Linked DNA regions of Homo sapiens: region 1 is linked to region 2. The links are contacts of gene promoters, found by promoter capture Hi-C in blood cells and fetal thymus (Javierre and others, 2016). All regions are on one chromosome and are shown on one strand. Each heading gives the region's core, a stretch centred on a gene start or on the middle of the fragment in contact. The rest is flanking DNA. Distances are from core to core; before and after follow the strand shown.

What was found. Contacts are between HindIII fragments. The CHiCAGO score rates a contact against its expected background, and 5 or more counts as called.
Region 1: a contact is called between the fragment with the promoter of OSGIN2 here and a fragment that was not itself captured in region 2, in 1 of 17 cell types (non-activated CD4 T cells). The highest score is 7.5, in non-activated CD4 T cells.

What each region holds. Positions count from the first base shown.
Region 1 is chr8:89,900,357-89,907,224 of GRCh38, forward strand. OSGIN2 (oxidative stress induced growth inhibitor family member 2) reads left to right here and starts at 2,214. Exons shown (of 6, transcript NM_001126111.3): 1 at 2,214-2,481. The coding sequence starts at 2,438. It overlaps LOC124901974 (a long non-coding RNA gene), which reads right to left and starts at 2,050. Exons shown (of 2, transcript XR_007061001.1): 1 at 1,663-2,050. It also overlaps the pseudogene RNU6-925P. RefSeq lists enhancers at 93-858, 859-1,624 and silencers at 1,918-2,216, 1,966-2,305, 2,336-2,785, 3,779-3,838. The HindIII fragment of the contact is 4,461 bases long and covers 1-3,685 here.
Region 2 is chr8:86,520,009-86,526,694 of GRCh38, forward strand. All of the region lies in intron 2 of CPNE3 (copine 3), which reads left to right. Among named protein-coding and RNA genes, the nearest start is that of CPNE3, 8.9 kb to the left of the region's middle. RefSeq lists enhancers at 3,280-3,379, 3,400-3,449. The HindIII fragment of the contact is 2,787 bases long and covers 2,998-5,784 here.

The DNA.
Region 1 (6,868 bases), core at 964-3,463, 3.4 Mb after region 2:
AGTGGGGATGGTTAATAGGTACAAAAGTATAGACAGAATTAGATCTAGTATTTGACAGCACGAGAGTGACTAGTCAACGATAATTCATTGAACATTTTAAAATAACTAAGTATAATTAGATTGTTTGTAGCACAAAGAAAGGATAAATATTTGAGGTGATGGATACTCCATGTACCCTGATGTGATTATTACTTATTGTATGCCTGTATCAAAATCTCATGTACCCCATAAATATATATACCATGTACTCACAAAAAATAAAAATTAAAAATTAAAAGAATTATCTGGATTGGACTGGCATAGCTTTCAGGAATTTATATGTTTATTTTTAATTTTTTTGGTTACATAGTAGGTGTATATATTTAAAAATACGGAACGCTTCACGAATTTGCGTGTTATCCTTGGGAAGGGGCCATGCTAATCTTTATATTATTCTAATTTTAGTATATGTGCTGCAGAATTAAGCACTGCTTTTAGGAATGTAGGTACTTTATTTATTTATTTTTGAGACGGAGTCTCGCTCTGTCGCCCAGGCTGGAGTGCAGTGGCGCGATCTTAGCTCACTGCAAGCTCCGCCTCCCGGGTTCACGCCATTCACCATGGTCTCGATCTCCTGACCTCGTGATCTGCCCGTCTCGGCCTCCCAAAGTGCTGGGATAACAAGCGTGAGCCACCGCGCCCGGCCAGGTACTTTATTATTATTTTTTGATACGGAGTCTCACTCTTTGGCCCAGGCTGAGTGCAGTGGCGCGATCTCAGCTCACTGCAACCTCCGCCTCCCGGTTTCAAGCGATTCTCCTGCATCAGGCTCTTGAGTAGCTGGGATTACAGGCGCGTGCCACCACGCCCGGGGCTAGGTTTTGTATTTTTAGTAGAAACGGGTTTCACCATGTTGGTCAGGCTGGTCTGGAACTTCTGACCTCAGGTGATCCGTCCGCCTCGGCCTTCCAAAAGGAATTTAGGTACTTTAAAATGCTGTTATGTATGTTAACGGAAAAGTAACTACATGCTTCATTTTCAGAACCAACATTCAAATGAAATGAACGTGTCAAATCGACAAAAGCTCAAAAAAGAGAAAAACATATAATACTTAAAAGTGGTTAATATACTCTTAGATTGCATAACTCTGGGGCAGTCTGAGTCCTATGATTTTCTTTTAAGACCCCAAGACTCTAAAATACCTGCTCATCACAAGTTTGTTCAGTGACAACATTCAGTAAAACTTAACATTTGTTTTACAAAATTATGTTGAAAGATATAAACATAAACGTATATTTGAAGCACAAAAATAATTACGGCTTTTTTTGGAAGCGGAGTTAGACATTTCCGTAGAAAAGTAGATGCAATCAATCTCTCCTGATTTTTGTCCTCCCCACCTTTAATTTTTGACAAACCGAATAACGACACTCACTATTGAGTACTTTTCTAACTCCCTATTGCATCACAAACGCCCGCAGGGGCTTAAAAAGCAGCAGGGGTTCCTGCCCTTCCCCACACTGGCCGGTGTGGTCTGGGGCGGGCCTGATGAGCACCTGGATTTTCACCCGGCGTGCTGGTAATTCCTACACTTGTGGGTGTTTGAGAGACATGAAGAGGGGAGGATGACCTCTTCCCGGAAGCGGGACTTCCATAAAAGAAGCGTGGTGGGCGGGTCCCGGGCACCTGTGGTTTGGTGAGTCCTCCAGGTAACTGTGATGCGGGGGTCAGCGGGAGAGGCACCCGGAAGCTCCCGGCGTCTGCACCCCGGCAGCGCGAGGAAATGCCCAAAGGTGGGTTCTCAGGCGTGGGAAGCTCGACCCTTCCCGGGGTCCTCGGCGAAGTGGCCGAGGCCGCGCCTTACGCAGGGAACTCCGCCGGGCCATCTGGGTGGCCCGAGTTCGCAGCAGCTTCTCTTCCGCTCGTCCCTCGGCCCTCTCGACGCGCACCCACCGGCCTCACCAAGTCGCACGCAGAGGGGCGGCGGGGCGCTGACCGAGGTCTAGGTCTCGATTGCCGCCGGTCGAGCCGCGCAGTTTGCCTGCAGACCTCGGTCCCCTGCCCGCGCAGCCTCGGCTCCATCAGGCCCGGCCCCTCGCCCGGGCCGTGGCTCCACCAATCGCAGACTTCGCCCGCCGCAGCCGCACCTGCGAGGAGGGGCCCGCGCGCCGCTGCAGCCGCCGTCGCAGCGTCCCCGCCCCGCTCCGCCCCTATCGCGGCGCCCCGAGATCACCCGCCTCCGGCGCCTGGCTCCCTGCAGGCGAGGAGCGGAAGCCGCTATCTGGAGGCGGACTCCGGCGCCACAGAGCCGGGGCAGCCGCGGCAACGGCGAGGCGCGAGGCAGGGGCGCCCGGCAGACCCCGCGACCCCGAGCCAGCGGGCGCCCCGAGCGGGCAGCCTCGCCGGGGGAGGCGGAGGCGGCCACGGCGGCCGCGCTCGGGCGCCCCTCGCGCAGCGCTCCATGCCCGTGTGGTGCTGCCGCTGCTCCCTGGCCGGTCATTTCAGGTGACTTCCTCGCCGGGGATGGGAGGGGAGCAGGCGGGGATGCCGCGCTCTCGAGCTTTTTGGCCTGGCCCGGGCCGGGACCGGGGTGGAGGGCGAGCGCCTGGACCGCAGCGTCCTCCCGCCTCGGCCGTCCTGCCTGGCGTGGGGGTGGGGTGGGGTGCGGTGTGGTGGGGTCCTTGCTCCGGGGAGCCCTGCGCTGTTCCCTTTTCTCGCTCTGGACCGCGCGGGTCACGGGACTGCGGGATCGGCTAGGCCGGACTGAGTCGGTTACGGCGAGCTGAGACTTCCCAGTAGTGCAAAGTTTTAGTGAAGGGGGTTCTACGAAGTGCCTGCCTCCCTAAAAAAAAATTATTTCTTAAAAAGTCTTCTAAATAATGTAATGAGTGGAAGGAAGGTAGGGAACTACATTTCAGTGTCATCTAATCACAAATAGATTCTGCCTTGTTAAGATGTTAGCCATGGTAAGACGTGTGTGTTGTAGAAATTTAAAGAATGAGGCGGTTTTACAATCACCTTATGGGGAAAGGTTTTAGGGGTGATAAAATATAATACATTTCTAAAATAAAAGTATGTTTTCTAGATCTAGCACATTTGGTCAACACCTCAGTCATTGGTGGAAAGACCAGACACTAGAAACTGATTTTAACCCTGGGGTGAAGAATGGTTAAGCATAGGGAATACTTTAGTACCTTGCTTTACATATACTGATGTTCCAGAATAATTCTATGTAAGACTTCTTCCCTGGTAAAATATGAAATTTTGATCAAGCCTTCCTAAATAGTGGGTTTCATACAATTTAGGTAACCCATGAACTTGGATGGAAAGAAAGGTATATCATTTCACTAAATTTTAAAAACTAATATTCAGTTAAAATATAAGCAACAAATCACAGTAGTATCTGTGACTGTCATCAGTAGAGATCATAAAATATGTTTATATCACATTGCAGTTAATATAGAAATACTGTTTATACTTATTCAAAATTATAGTAACACATCACTGAATTTATTGAATGCAACAGAGAAGCACATATATATATCGCGTTTACTTTTTATGACTGTTTTAATAGAATTAGTTTTCTTGTAAATCCTGTGTATATTTAAGAACAGTATTCAGAGAAGAGGTTAAGAAGCGTCATCCTATAGTAAAAGAGATGTAAGGCATAGAGAAAGTTTGGAACTTCTTTTGTAACAGCGATAATCCAAGCTTGTCTAACCTCTCAGTGAGTTTAGAATGAGTCTCTAGGTTGTGGATATTAAGGAAAAATTGTTTCATATAATAAACTGCTTGATTTTAACTTTTAGGCAAATTTGTTGACTACTGAGACAGCGGTTTGAAGGTATCAGATTCACTATGGAAACTTTTAGGAAATAGGTTCCCCTAGTGAAACTTGTTAAACTAAATAAAGCCCATGAGAATCTAACATGCCTTTCAGAAAATATTGTGTGAAAGCTATTTGACACCTTTTGATGCACAGTGTAGGATTCATATTCTTTTGACTAATACTGGGTGTTGAATACCATTTGCTTCCTGCCGTGCACAGAAATTTGGAGTAGGGAGTGAAAACAAAGTATTTGCTATGTTTTGGTCTGGAGGGACAGAAAGAAAAACAAGCTAGCTGCCAAAGATAAACATTATGATTAATAAACCACACTTTTTATTGCAAAAACAGTTCTGTTGTGTCTAAAGTATTTTTTTTTTTAGTTGTTTACCAGCTCCTTCAGGAATATGTTTCTGATTTACCAGTGCTATTTCTCGAGCAGTTTCAGGTCAGTTCAGGTCATCCTGGCCAACATGGTGAAACCCCGTCTCTACTAAAAACTCAAAAATTAGCCGGGCAGGGTGGTGTGCACCTGTAATCCCAGCTACTCGGGAGGTTGAGGCAGGAGAATAGCTTGAACCCAGGAGACACGTTGCAGTGACCTGAGATCGCACCACTGCATTCCAGCTGGGCGACAGAGTGAGACTGTCTCAAAAAAACAAAAAACACACAAAAAAACACAGATTATAAAACAGGTTGTGACATCTATTGTCTAACATCTGAATGGATAAGTAGTGAGAGAACTGTCCACTAACTTTCCAAAGGAAAAAACCTCTTCCTTCGTGTTCTGGAAGATGAAGAGTGTGACTGACTTCATTTGTGGCTTTAGAACCTTCTTTCCATGTGGTAGTATAAATTTGGTAAATTTTAGGTTCATGGTTCCAAAGACTATAAAAATTCAGTTAGTAAAGCATTTCATTTTAGTTTGAATGATCATTTAAACAAGTACTGCTATGGTATGGAAAAAGTCTTTTTGTTATCCTGATACTATGTCCACACTATCCTTTGAAATGTTCTCTGAAACTTTGTGCTGTAATGTTTCAAAAACAAAAAATGGAAGGCCTCTAAAAGCATCTTAAATGTCAAATAGGCTTTTAACTTGCTTCCTAACAATAGAGTAACTAATTTTGCATGTAAAGTGCTGTTCTTTACTAGTTGCTAAATGTAATTGTACATATTTTCCAATTTTAATTTGTGCCTCGAAGAAAAAGTAGATTTTTATTACTCAAAATAAGCTCTTGTTTTAAATAGAACAAATATCAAATTGGAAATCTAGAGATTAACACTGTTCATAGACCTGTGATATACTGTGCATGTACTATAAAACATGTACAGCAATACTAAATTTATAACTTAAGCTCTGAATTTTTTAGAAAGAATAATTACTAAAAGTCTTGTTTCATTAATGTTTTATGTAAAACCAGTGAATCACACTTTCCGTTTTTGTTTCCTTGTTTTTCTTTGTGTTAAACCACTATCAAATAGGAGGCAGGTTTACTACAAATAGTTTATCACAGAGTTTATACCAGTGGCTCCTGAAAAATCAGAGCAGATTACCTATACTATGTAAATTTAGATAAGCTAATGTGTAGAGAATTTGGATAAACTAAACTTTGGTTCTTCATTGCTTGAGGGCTGCACATGCAAAAAACTACTAGACCTAATATATAAATTCAACGGTGTTGCAGGATGCAAAATCAACATACAAAAGTGAATTGTATTTCTGTACATTAACACTGAATAATTTAAAATGAAATTAACAAAGGTATTTCATTTATATAATAGCATCAAAAAATGAAATACATAAGAATAAATTTAATAAATGCAATACTTATGCACTGAAAACTACAAAATGTTGAGAGAAATTAAAGGTCTAAATAAATGGAAAGGAATTCTATATTCATGGATTGAAAAACTTAATATTCTGTTTTTTCTTTTAAGTACAGGGATGCAAGTTCAGGTTTCTTACATAGGTAAACATGTGTCATGGGAGTTTGTTTCATCACGCAGGTATTAAGCCTAGTACCCATTAGTTCAGGGGTGTCCACTCTTTTTGCTTCCCTGGACCACATTGGAAGAATTGTCTTGGGCCACACATAAAATACACTCACATTGATGATAGCTGATGAGCTTAAAAAAATGGCAAGAAAATCTCATAATGTTTTAAGAAAGTCTACGAATTTGTGTTGAGCCACATTCAAAGCCATCCTGGGCCGCATGTGGGTTGAACAAACTTGCATTAGTTGTTTTTCTTGATCCTCTCCCTCCTCCCACCCTTCATCCTCGGGTGGGCCCCAGTGTGTGTTGTTCCCCTCTGTGTGTCCATGTGTTCTCCTCATTTAGCTCCCCCTTATAAGTGACAACATGTGGTCTTTGGTTTTCTGTTCCTGTGTTAGTTTGCTAAGGATAAGGGCCTCCAGCTCCATCTATGTCCCTGCAAAGGACCTGATCTCATTCTTTTTTGTGGCTGTATAGTATTCTATGGTGCATATGTACCATGTTTTCTTTATCCAGTCTATCATTGATGGGTGTTTAGGTTGATTCCATGCCTTTGCCATTGTGAATAGTGCTGCAGTGAATGTACACGTGCATTTGTCTGTATAATAGAATTATTTTTATTCCTTTGGGTATATACCCAGTAATGGGATTGCTGGGTGGAATGGTATTTCTATCTTTAGGTCTTTGAGGAATCACCACACTATTCCACAATGGCTGAACTAATACACTCCCCCCAACATATAAGCATTCCCTTTTCTCCATAACCTTGTCAGCATTTGTTATTTTTTGACTTTTTAATAGCCATTTTGACTGGTGTTAGATGGTGCCTCATTGTGGTTTTGATTTGCGTTTCTCTAATGAGTGATGTTGAACTTTTTTTCATATGATTGTTGGCTGCCTGTATGTCTTCTTTTGAGAAGTGTCTGTTCATGTCCTTTGCCCACTTTTCTGTGGGGTTGTTTTTTCTTGTAAATTTAAGTTCCTCATAGATGCTGGATATTAGACCTTTGTTGGATGCATAGTTTGCAAAAATTTTCTCCCATTCTGTTGGTTGTCTGTTTACTCTGT
Region 2 (6,686 bases), core at 3,141-5,640:
GCCCCAGATATAGCTTTTTTGATAGAGATGGAGACTGAGTTTGGAAAACTTTATCCTTTTTCTTCCATTTCTCCTTTTTGTACTTATAAATATTCTAATGTTTTCTATTCATTTTAAAAAATCCTTTAGTACCACTTCCTAAACAAGTTCCATATTCACTGTAATTAAATTAGGGTTATAGTACATTAATGGAAAAGACCTTAAGAATTACTTAAAGAAAGGGATTGACTCAACTCTTAGGTTTAACAGCTGAAGGCTGGGCGCAGTGGCTCACGCCTGTAATCTCAGCATTTTGGGAGGCCAAGGTGGGCAGATTACAGGCGGATTACCTGAAGTCAGGAGTTCGAGACCAGCCTGGTCAACATGGTGAAACCCCGTCTCTACTAAAAATACAAAAATTAGCTGGGCGTGATGGCAGCGCCTGTAATCCCAGCAACTCAGGAGGCTGAGGCAGGAGAATCACTTGAACCCAGGAGGCGGAGGTTGCAAGTGAGCCAAGATCTCCATTGCACTCCAGCATGGGCGACAAGAGTGAAAGTCCATCTCAAAAAAAAAAAAGATTTAACAGCTGAAAAAACCTGAAGCCTGGAGAAGTTACAGCAGTTGCCCAAATGCCTGCCATTGTGGTGTGACTAACACAGAACCAGGCATTTCTTTTTTTTTTTTTTTGAGACGGAGTCTTGCTTTGTCACCCAGGCTGGAGTGCAGTGGCGCAATCTTGGCTCACTGCAACCTCTACCTCTGGGTTCAAGTGATTCTCCTGCCTCAGCCTTCCAGGTAGCTGGGACTACAGTGCACCATGCCCAACTAATTTTTGTGTTTTTAGTAGACACAGGGTTTTGCCATGTTGACCAGGCTGGTCTCAAACTCCTGACCTCAGGTGATCTGCCCAGTCCATTTCTTTTGACACCTGATCCAGTGATTCTTCCTTTTTGTTTCTTTTTTGTTTTGTTTTATGTATATTTATGCTTGACATTATTCCCTATCTTCATTTCTGGTATCCTGTGGTAGTGATTAAAAAAATACATCTGGGCATCACTTTGTTACTAAATACAGAACAAGCGTAGTTTAAATTCTTTTAATGTGAGTTTTTTACTCTCAGAGTCTGGATATTAAGTGCAGTATATTCCTGAGAATAAATGTTGCTGCTCTAAGACGATCTAATGGCACCTACACACATGGCAGACCTGTGTGTGTAGAGACACACTAGCAAGGAGAACTTGCTTTCTTAGCCTTAAGTAATTTACAATTTAATGGGTTATCTTGAAGAGGAACTGCTATGAGGTAAATAAAATATAAACCATTCCAGTTCTTCCATTCTTTGGCAAGCTTTTGTTATTCTGGTTACGTTTGTTTAAGAACCATATAACTAGTTTTAGCCTCAGTATTAACCTTGTAATTTTAAAGTTCCTATTTTATTAATTTGTGTCAGGCTGAATATTACTTTTGATATTAACAAGACTTAAGGAAATTAATAGAGAATATTGCTGTTATACTAAGTAACTATTTTTTGATATTGTTTTTAATTGAAAAATCATAATTGTTTACATCTATGGAGTTTATTTATTTTTACTAATACTATTTTTACTTGACAGCTAATTAACTATTAATTAGAGGCTTTAGTGCTCTGAAGGGATTTTGGCATAAAGGGGAAAATACCTGGGTTTATGCTGTGGTGGTGACACTTACTAGCTTTGTGATCCCATGTAAGTAATTTAACCTTTTTGAAGAAATTTATATTTTTTTCCTAATATATACTATGCATTATTTTGAAGATTAACAATGTGCTGAAAATTATCAACATATTCTGGGTCAATCAATTCAGACACTGGAGTGCCTTATATTATAGTCATACCTGTGACATATGGACCTTCCACCATGTAGTAATCATTATCCTGCCTAACTCACAGAGTTTTTGTAAGGTTCAGAAGATAATATATTATTTGGAAGCACTTTGAAAATTGTAAAAAAAAACAAAATCTGTCCAGTTGTATGGAATTATTAACTATCTTTTCTTTCCCCTTATTCTTCTACTCCCCACTTTCTTACTGTCTACCCTTGAATGTAAGGGTGAAAAAGAAATCTGGTAGTCAGTAGCAATAATACTGCAAATTCTTTTTGTAGTGGAGTATAGTTTTAATCGTCAGTAAAAGTAGAAATCTCTGGGGAGCTTCTTCAGCTCCAAGAGCACTTTGATTGTTCCCTGTCTGTACCACACAATTTTATACTCTTGTATACTATTTCTATGTATACATAGTTAGCTAAGTAGCTAAGTATTTATTTCGTTTTTGCCTCCCCCAACCCTCACTTTTGGAACACCTAGAAAGTATTCAGTAAGTAATTGTTTTATGAATGGGTCTCCCCAATTTGATTATAATGAGCTACAAGCGCTTCTGTTGCTGTATAATGTCCCTGCTGTCCTTAGCAAAATAATGGGTTTACAGTAACCTGGTAATAAATACATTTGCTAGTCTGACCTGGGAACTCTGAGGAGCATAGCAGCCTTTGGATTTACAGCCATATTACCTGACGCCCGCTGCTTTTTTTTTTTTTTTTTTTTTTTTTTTTTAGTAGGGGAACACTTATTACTATTCTGAGCAACACAATTTGAGAAACACTGCCTAGGGTGTGTTTTGCTGATGTTGCTGGGCCGGTTCCAGCTGCCCCAGGGTTGCCCTTGCTTGCTTTCAATAGCGGTCAGGCAGGATGTACTGCAGAATAGCAGTTAGTGAATCATGGTATTAGAACCAGAAAGAACTTCTGAGAATTTTTTACATTAGGCCAGTCTCTTCATTTTTCAGCTGAAGACTGAAGGAACTTTACTAAAGGGATTTGTAGATAGGCACCGACTTCTCCTTCACAATTGTTTTAGGACACATTTTGAGTCACTGACATGAGCCTGCGCTCCCCTCACCTGCGTACCTTATCTATACTCAAGGCTGACTATTTCACCAAATTAATTTTATGTAAATCCCAAAAATCATTATTGTTTCAAGAAGCTTTTCATAAGTAAGGATGAGAAAGCTGCTTTATGTCTTACTACTTAATAACAAGCCATCTATGCTGAGACAATCAATTAAAATCCCTGACTCAGTAATAAAATAATTGCTACAATTCATAGAGTGTCTATTATATGCTGAGCATGCTACAGACCTACAGTTGTCAGGGTTTTTATTAAGTTTATTTTTCTCTCTTAGCCTTATTTACATTGAAGGACTAGTGTCAGGGTTTTTTAATATCCCCATTTTATAAATTAGGAAATTGAAGTTCAGATAGACAATTTGGCAGAGGTGACACATCCAAATTAGTGATGGGAAAGAAATTTGAATGACACACGCTGACTCCAGCATTATTGCTCTTTCTGCTACAAATAACCTGTGCCAGATGTCATGCTTCAGGAAGAAGAGGAAGTGGTAAAATATGTTCGCTGCCCACAGTTCACAGTATATAGACGGAGTGATGAGCCACAAATACAAGTAACAATAGTGGAAAGAAAATAGAATCAGTGCCATAACAGCATGAGGGGTATCAGCAGGGTATCAGCAACAGCTGTATGAATGAAGTATCATTTGAAGTGTTTGTTTTGTTTTGTTTTGAGATAGAGTCTCACTCTGTCGCCCAGGCTGGAGTGCAGTGGTACCATCTCGGCTCACTGCAACCTTCACCTCCTTGGTTCAAGTGATTCTCCTGCCTCAGCCTCCCGAGTAGCTGGGATTACAGGCACCTGCCACCACACCTGGCTAATTTCTGTATATTTAGTAGAGACAGGGTTTCACCATGTTGGCCAGGCTGAGTTCTTGAACTCCTGACCTCAAGTGATCCCCCTACCTCGCCCACCCAAAGTGCTGGGATTACAGGTGTGAGCCACCGTGCCCGGCCTGAAGTGGATCTTGAAGAACTTGGGTGGGCAGAGGTAGCTGTTCAGGTAGATTAGGGGTAGATGTTGGCAGAGCCATGAATTCCAGGCTTAGTTCATTGGACTATCACTTTTTAATCAGAAGTGATAAAACCATAATGTGAATGGAGAGAAAATGGCAGTGGGAATACCCATTAGGAGACTATTATATAAGGCAGGTGAGAGATACAGAAGACCTGAAGTTAGGGTTGTGACTCTGGGTATGGGAAAGCGGCTGTATCTCCATGTTTGGGAGAGATTTGGGGTTCTAGTAGGCAGAATCTCTATGACATCTTTACTGGATAAATCTAAGAGTAGGTTTAAGGAGGAATGGGAAAAGAGGAAGTAGATAAGACTTCAGGATTTTCAGCCAGGGCATGGGAATGACCAGATGCCTTAAATTTCACATATCAGGTACCACTTTAAATATTAGGTCTTAATTCTCAGCTCCTTATGTTTATCTCTGTTATAATATTGATTCAGAACGTTAGGGTGACTGGGAGAATTATTGATATATTTGGTGTTTCTAGGGATTATTTGCATTTCAGAAGACGTGTTTGGATCAAATTTTGTCCAACAAGTAATAATCTGTACAGTAGGGAAGCTGTTGTCTAATCCTAGGGATTATTTGTGTTTTCTATCCTGCTCTTTAAGGAGTAAAATACTACATAGAATTCTTCTTTAGTTGCTCATGCATTCTTTGCCAGGTGACTTATCCCAGCCAAATCTTTCATACTAAAAGAGTATAAAACGTTTGTTTTATTTTTCCTCATCATAATTTTTTTTTTTTTTTTTTTTGCGACAGGGTCTTGCTCTGTCACCCAGGCTGCAGTGCATAGCTTACTGTGGCCTCGAACTCCTGAACTTGAGTGAGCCTCCTGCCTTAGCCTACTGAGTAGCTGGGACTACAGGTGCATGCCACCTTGGCTGGCTAATTTTTTCATTTTTCTTTCTTTCTTTCTTTCTTTTTTAGACGGAGTCTTGCTCTGTCGCCCAGGTTGGAATGCAATGGCGTGATCTCACTGACCGAAACCTCCGCCTCTGAGGTTCAAGTGATTCTCCTGCCTCAGCCTCCTGAGTAGCTGGGATTACAGGCATGTACCACCATGCCTGGCTAATTTTTGTGTTTTTAGTAGAGACGGGGTTTCACCAGGTTGGCCAGGCTGGTCTCAAACTCCTGACCTGGGATAATCCACCTGCCTCGGCCTCCCGAAATGCTGGGATTACAGGTGTGAGCCACTGCGCCCAGCCTAAAATTTTTTGTTTTTGTAGAGATGAGGTCTCTGTTGCTCAGGCTGGTCTTGAACTCCTGGGCTCAAGCAATCCTACTGCCTCAGCCTCCCAAAGTGCTGGGATTACAAGTATGAGCCAATATGCCCAGCTCCCATTATGATTTGTGGATAAAGTATACTATTGCTCTCTTAAAAAATTGTATATCATGTACTGGATAATTACATTAAAAGGAAATGAAAACAGTATCTTCATGAATATTACCATTAACAAGATTCCAGACCCTAGTGTTTATGTAATTTCTTCCATTTGCCATTCAGCCATAATGGGTTTCAGGATAACATTGAGACCAGCACAGAGTCATTTTTCAGAGAGGAATGCTGCTAATAGAAGAAATTTGTTTCCTGGCAGCAATGCAGTAGTATAACTGTCAGCAATTGGTTAAATAATCAGCTGTGCCTGGCATGTTGTTTTTGTAGCTTTTGTATAAGCATTTTTAGGGAAAAAAATAATGCTCTTCTGATATGTGGTGTCTCTTTGCTGTGAGACTGACTTCACATGTAGATGTCTTCATTCTCTGTTGAATTCTTCCCATCCTTGGAAATTTGAAGACTTTTCTGCTGGCTGGTAGAGAATCCTCTACATGTTTTTTTGGGGGAAGCTTTAGCTATTGTTGCTCATTCTATGTTCATCCACAGGGCACTGCATTATGCTTGATATTGCTGACATACAACTTACAAGACTCTAAACTACCTTATGCAAAAAAAAATCATACAACTCACATTTATTTTACAGATTCTGTATTAGATGCAAAAAAACAGTATGCCTGGCACGTGCCAGATTTACAAATTTACTTGCATTATCTCCATTTTTACTGATGAGGAAATCTAGGCCCAGGAAGTTGAAGTTACTTATACGTGGTCACACAGCAAGTGCCAGATGGAGGGTTCAACCGGGCGGTGGCGGGCACCTGAAATCCCAGCTACTTGGGAGGCTGAGGCAGAGAATTGCTTGAACCTGGGAGGCGGAGGCTACAGTGAGCTGAGATCGCGCCACTGCAGTACAGCCTGGACGACAGAGCAAGACTCCGTCTCAAAAAAAAAAAAATTGGGTGTGTGCATTACCCCAAATTTGATCTTGTTCCTGTAATGCAGTAATCTGTTACTATTAGTGCAATAGGAATTCAAAGGAACACCTTAGTATGGATTGGAATAATCAGGATAATCATGGAATGGAATAATAAAAAAATATGAAACATGGGATAGATAAGATAGGATCAGACCCTAGAGGCAGATAGTGATAAAATGATAATAAAATGTGAGCACTTACTGTATACTAGGCACATATATAAATATATAAGATACATATTTTTTGTTTGTTTGTTTTGTTTTTTTTTTGAGATGGGGTCTCACTCTGTCACCCAGGTTGGAGTGCAGTGGCATGATCTTGGCTCACTGCAAACTCTGCCTTCCAGTCTCAAGCGATCCTCCTACCTCAGACTCCAGAGTAGCTGGGATCACAGGCTCATGCCACCACACCCAGCTAGTTTTTGTATTTTAGT